Linked DNA regions of Homo sapiens: region 2 is linked to region 1. The links are contacts of gene promoters, found by promoter capture Hi-C in blood cells and fetal thymus (Javierre and others, 2016). All regions are on one chromosome and are shown on one strand. The core of a region is centred on a gene start or on the middle of the fragment in contact, and the rest is flanking DNA. Distances in the headings are between cores, read along the strand shown.

Region 1 (3,248 bases), core at 314-2,813:
GGCAGCCAGAGATGGCACCAGGGGAGTATGTTTGTCTGCGATTACCTCCCGTTATATTTCTGTCCAGCTAAATAACATTCAAACATGACAGTTGGTTGCGGACACATCTCAGGAACTGTGGAAACAACCCAAGCAACCTCATTTCCAACTATCTGACCTCTGGATATCAGTCCCAGGATGCCATAAGAAAAAAAATAATAAGGGCATTTCTGTGGGCTGTTTCTAGTCAACTCGGTGTGTGCCCATGCATATGCCGGAATACATAGTAATAAAAAGCTGGTTAAATGCTGGTCCTTTGCAATACTGGCTATTTCCAAGGAAGAGAGCTTTCAGGTGTGCAATGCCATTTGCCCTTTGGACTAACAAGCAAAGCAGACCTAACTTCACCTGCTTCATGGTCTCACTTAGATAACAATGTTAACAAATGATATCTCAGAGACCTTTGAACAAAATCTGACATTTTCAGTGACTCTCCCACCATGAATCCATCACCCCCTTCGATGTAGATATGTTAAAATGTATAAAAGGCATATTCAAAGGCCAAAATCTTATAGTCTTTTGCCCAAGGTCCCTAATATGTGTATGACAGAGTCTATGTATATTTAGCTTCTTCCATCTTTTAGGAATACATGATCATGTATATATGAACAGTTCCGGGTCTGATCTGAGCGGGTTGTCTTCGGTGTAAACCAGAGCTCCAGAGAAAGGAGGGTAGACATATTGGTTTGTTTGCTGGGGAACCAAATTGAGACAGACTCTACACAGATGTGATTGTGACAACACTTTTTGCCCGCCTAAGCGAGCCATAGAGCCGTCTCCAGAGCTGCCGGTGCCTTTAAGAAGACTCGGTCTTTCGGGTCTTCTTTTTCCCCAATGGGCTCCAGTGGTGCCCGCAGCAAAAGGCAAACTTGCCTGGCTCATGGGGTGAAAGGGAGGATTGAAGAATGCCGCGTTGGGTGGGTGCTGAGGGAGCGCCAGAGTGCGCTACGGGCTTCGCTCCCCTTCCCCTTTCCTTAACCCTTCCTAGAGCGGAGGAACCGGGTCGTGCTGCAGCGCCCAGGAGCCAGGGCGCTGACTGTCCTCGGCTCCAGAAACTTTGCGCGGAGAGTGGGCTTGACTGGGCAGAGCCGAGCCGGCTGGCTGACCCGGGAAGGAACGGGGGAAGGGCGGGGTGAGGGAAGAAAGACCCTTTAGCACCCCGGGTTTCTAGCCCGGGCGGCGGTGTGCAGCTGCATGAGGGAGCTGTCCCTTCGGCACCACGGACCTTAAAGCCTAGGCGTTAAGACGACGGAGGCGGGGCAACAGGCGGGGAGCTGTCCCTTCAGCACCACGGACCTTGGCGCCCCCAGGGAAACCAGCCGGCCCCCGCCCCAGGACTCTGTCTTTTCTCCAGTTTGAGCGGGGGTGTCGGGAGCAGGCGGAGAGCTTTCCTGCGAGGCTGTGGAAGCAGTGAACACTCTTCTCAGCGGCTCGCCTCCCAGCAGTGCTATTTTTTGCCATCCGCCCTCACCCCCAGCACACGCGCTCGCACACACACGCACGCACGCACACACACACACACACACACTCACACAGAGACCTCTCTGGGTTTCTTTGCCTTGAGTCTCCCGGGGCTGTGAGAAGCCAGGCGCATCTCAAACCGAGCTGGCAGCTCCAGGCTCCGGAGCCATGCCCTGCACGGACCCTCGTCTTTACCACGCTCCTGAGGAATGAAAGGAACCCAGGGACCCTCAGAAGGCAGCAGTGATGCGGACCAACCCCCCGGAGCCTGCACCCTTCCGAGGGCCATAGGCGACCCAGGGAACTGGAGAGAGCTCCAGAAAGGAAATCCCAGCTTTCCCAAAGTCCCTGTGGATGCTGACAAAAGGAGACCTGAATTTTTGGAAGAGCCTGTACTAGGTTACCCGGCTGCAGAGTGATTTTCCCCTCCGGCACTGACTCTCCCCCTCCAACCCCCAGCCGTCCAGAGTACCATGAAGAATTATGAGGATGTGTGACAGAGGTATCCAGATGTTGATCACCACTGTAGGAGCCTTTGCCGCTTTTAGTTTAATGACCATTGCAGTGGGCACGGACTACTGGTTATATTCCAGAGGTGTGTGCAGGACTAAATCTACAAGTGATAATGAAACCAGCAGGAAGAATGAAGAAGTAATGACCCATTCGGGGCTGTGGAGGACCTGCTGCCTAGAAGGTATTTACAATTTCCTCTCAATAGCTCTGAATAATCCAGTTCTGATATTCTGGTGGGTGTTTGGAGGAGATGGAAATGGTGATAAGGAAAGAAGAGAAGTTCAAATTATTGCTGAGAATGTGCAGGTGCCCAGACTCTGTTAACAGCAAGACTGACGCCATGTGGGTTAAAGGGGTTGGGTCTTGTTGATTGTTTTTAGTATAAGCTTCATGAGATGAGATTTTTGTCACACTCTAGGCAGCTTCTGCAGTTTAGAAAAGTCTTCAAATCCAAAATCCCTAGGCATATTGTCAACTGCTTGGATCTCTGGCTTGAGATGGGGTCTTTAACCCTGCTTAAATTGGATTTCGAAGGGAGGGGGAGGGAAGGGAGGAGAAGGGACAAGAGGAAAGAAGTGAGGGGGGAGAGAGAGAGAGAGAGAGAGAGAGAGAGAGAGAGAGAGAGAGAGAGAGAGAGAGAGAGATCCTGACCCGGTCTGGCACATTCTGAGCTATTTCATTATTTCTCAACATAGACTTATCAGTTTCTCCTGAGTTTGCTCTAACTAGATATTGTCATGAACTTCCACTGCCAATCAGTAACAGGGTAACATATGTAAACCCCTACTCCCACCCACACCCTATGCACACATTTTAAGAAAAAATCCTTATTGATACATGTTTTATTAGTTTGGATCACAACAAAACTGAAGTCTTGGTATTTTGTATCCACCTGTCTTCATTCCTAAATCATTCCCAAACCCCTAAAAAGGTATTTCCATGACATTTACAAAAGACTGATTCTCCAAGAATTGCAGTTCGTCATTTCTAGTTCTAAAAATTAGGGAGTAGTTATAACTTATAATGAAGAAGAAAGAGCAATTTAAAAATATAAAGCCCTTTTGTAGCCTATCACACTATTAAACTTGCTTTCACCACACCAGAAGTCACTCTCAGCACCAGTAGGCAATGCTTGGATATCACTGGGAGTAAATAGAAAGATAAGGAAGAAAATCAAAGCTCTTTGGAGCCTATGTGCCTGAGGGAAGTCACTGGATTAGAGGGGCAGTAGGGGT
Region 2 (3,248 bases), core at 476-2,975, 200 kb before region 1:
TCTCTCCACTGGATGGAGAGCAAGAACCTTCCTTATTTTTTATGCCACTTTGTGCTAGTGCAGTGCACAATTGACATGTACAGATGCACAATTAGAGTTTGCTGAGTAAATGGCTAAATAGGTTAAAAAAAAAAACCAAAAACGGTGGGCTGCTAGGCAGAAGTGTAACCACACAAGTGAACCTTGAAAGTTACCATGAAACGTAACCTTCATGCCCTGTGAAGGTGCCTTAGGTTTCTGGTGTGTTTGGACCATAGATTGTAGCTATGAAGTCTGATTAATGCCTGAATCAGACATTGAATGACCTGAATAAATAGTTAAAAAGTTGGACTTCTAGGCTGAAGTGTAACCACATGAGAGAAGCATGAATGTTACCATGAAGGTGCCTAGGGTTTCTGGTGTGTTCAGACCATAGATTGTAGCTATGAAGTCTGATTAATGCCAGCTCACAGAAGAGCTTGCTCAAGCATGCTAGGGATTTGGTGAGCCATTGTAGGTGGTAATGACCTGATCTAGTTACCATGGGTGACAATTAAAAAGAAGGATTAAAGATGTAAGGGACTAGAGCTGTAGAGACCCATCCAGGAGCTATTGATCCCTGTAGGATGGAGGAGATGAAACATACATGAATTAAGGAAGTGGAAGGATAAGAATAAATTGATGTAGAGGATCAGGGAGAGGATGGAGGAGTCAGGACTAACAGAGATTTCTGACTCAGGAAGACATGTGGATAGTGAGCGTGATAGCCAATTAGGGTTAGAAGTCACAGAAGCTTACCAGAAGGGAAAGGTAATCATCTTGCTTTAGTATATGTTGAGATGTTTTTGGGTTGCATGGGTGACTGTGTCCAGTAGGCAGATGAATCTGTATATCCAGAGATCCGATTGGAAAAACAGAGCCAACAGTATGGATGCAGGGGTCACCGGCCCTAACAGTGGAAGCTGAATTCTTTGAGTGGGTCAGGAATTAGTGCAGCACTGTAAGAGCAGGAAGGTTCAGGCTCTGGGAAATGGAGCCACTTCAGTCATCAGTGGAGCAAGAGGAGCCAGTGAAGGAGAATTTAAAAATAATGCTTTTAAGTCCAGGTGCAGTGGCTCATGTCTGTAATCCCAGCACTTTGGGAGTCTGAGGCAGAAGGATCGCTTGAGCCCAGGAGTTCAAGACCATCCTGGATGATAAAGGGAGACTCCATTTCTACAAAAAAAAATTTTTTTTTTTTAATGTAGCCAGTGTGGTGGTGCATGCCTGTGGTCCAAGCCACTGGGGAGGCTAAGGTGGAAGGAGCCCTTGAGCCCAGAAGTTTGAGGCTGCAGTAAGCTATGATCACAGCACTGCACTCCAGCCTGAGTGACAGAGTGACACCCTATCTCGAATAATAATTATTATTAGTAGTAATAATTATAGTGCTTTTAGAGAATGAAGGGGAACCAGCCGAGTAAATGGTCATAGAAGCCAAGGGAAGAGAGAATTCAAGAAAGTGGATATGGCCAACACCTTAGATGCTGCCAACTGGTAATGATAAACACGAGGCTAAGAATTGAACAGAGTCACTGGATTTGGTCATTTAACTTAGGGACTTGGGAAGTGCTCTTTCAGTGGCATAGTAGGAGTTAAGAGGCAGGATGCCGGAAAGCCTGGATGCTGGATGTTGAGGAGGGAATTGAAGGAGGGGATGTGGAAAGAGGAGTGTAGACAACTCATGAGAATTTGGGTTGTGGAAGAAAGGGGCCAGGGAAGGCGTCTTAGAAGGAAGTTATTTCTGAGAGGCATCTGAGCAGGTTTATAGCATGAATGGAAGAAAGCAAGGTGCCTGGGAATAGGGATAGGAATTAAGCAGAAGCGGTCCTAGGCTTTGTCTTCAGGAAGATAGGTGTTCAAGTCCCAGCTCTGCCACATGCTGGCTGTGGGACTTTGGGCAAGTTAATGAAGCCCCATGAGTCTCAGTGTCCTCATCTGGCGAGCAGAGAGAGTAGCCTGTACCTTGCAGAGTCATGGCAAGGATGAAACAAGAATGTCTCTCAGGGCCTTCACAGCGCTTAGTGCATAATGAGGGGTTAGTTAGTGAACTCCTACCAAGCTCCTTTGTACAGGGCATTTAGCAAAGACGTCAGTGACCCTGAGAATCCCTAGTCTAAGGTAGGTACCCCTTCCCTAAGCGCTGAACTTCCTCCCTTATGCATGTATCACATCTACAATGTTTCCTTGTGTAGTGGATACTGTGGTGTGCCACCAGGATCCCTCTCTCAGCACAGAGGCACTCCTGCCCCAAGCCACGCAGAGTATTGGCTCTGACCACTCACGGCTTCAGTATTTCCGTAGGATTTGCCCTGAGGGAGCTGCAGTGCCCAAGGTTATGCCCTCTTCCAGGGGCAGCTCACAGTCTATGATTGGTTGCTGGTGGGGAATGGGCTTATAAATGCTCTTCCCCAGCCTCAGTAGGGAACAAGTCTAAGGGGCCATCCCAGCTACAGAGCTCCCTCATGGATCAGGTGACACCTCTGTTGCAGCTACATTGCAGTTCAGTTTCTCGATTTCATCCTGCTTCCCCCATTCCTTGCAGGAGTTCCTCCCAAGGTTATTCCCTGAGAAGCCGCCTGCATACAATATCCAGATCAGTCTTTTTTCAGGGAACCCGACTTAAGATGCCTTGTTTAATGTTTGTATCTTTTCTCTAAAATATAAGCTTTTTGTAGGGACTGACTATTCTGTCTTGTTCATTTTGTGTCACCATGTCTAGGTACATAATAGGTGCTTGTTAATAATTTTTAATCTTTTTTTTTTTGAGACAGGGTCTTGCTCTGTTGCTCAGGCTGGAGTGCAGTGGCATGATCTTGGCTCACTGCAACCTCCGCCTCCCGAATTCAAGCAATTCTTATGCCTCAGCCTCCCAAGTAGCTGGGATTACAGGTGTGCATCACCACACCCAGCTAATTTTTGTATTTTTAGTAGAGACGGGGTTTTGCCATGTTGGCCAGGCTGATCTCAAACTCCTGAGCTCAAGTGATCTGCCCACTTTGGCCCCGCAAAGTGCTGGGATTACAGGCATGAGCCACCACATGCGGCCATTAATTGAATAAGTGAATGAACAGGTTTCCTAAACACACACACAGGAGTGCCCTGATATATACAGTTTTTCAGAGTTGTGATTAGAGAATAGGTTATCTGGAAGTGCCTTCCTGTGGGAGTGTGAGCTTGCATAGGCTCCCCCAGCATGGAGCCATCACTAGCAATGGCTGTGTCTTCCACGA

Evidence for each region. The method cuts DNA at HindIII sites, captures the fragments that hold promoters and counts their contacts. A CHiCAGO score of 5 or more calls a contact.
Region 2: a fragment that was not itself captured here is called in contact with the fragment with the promoter of CACNG3 in region 1 in 4 of 17 cell types (erythroblasts, total CD8 T cells, endothelial precursors and 1 more); the score reaches 7.2 in erythroblasts.

What each region holds. Positions count from the first base shown.
Region 1 is chr16:24,254,772-24,258,019 of GRCh38, forward strand. CACNG3 (calcium voltage-gated channel auxiliary subunit gamma 3) reads left to right here and starts at 1,564. Exons shown (of 4, transcript NM_006539.4): 1 at 1,564-2,194. The coding sequence starts at 1,984. RefSeq lists an enhancer at 1,312-2,039. The HindIII fragment of the contact is 7,529 bases long and covers 1-2,397 here.
Region 2 is chr16:24,058,297-24,061,544 of GRCh38, forward strand. The region is part of intron 5 of PRKCB (protein kinase C beta); the gene reads left to right. Among named protein-coding and RNA genes, the nearest start is that of MIR1273H, 140 kb to the right of the region's middle. The HindIII fragment of the contact is 1,911 bases long and covers 771-2,681 here.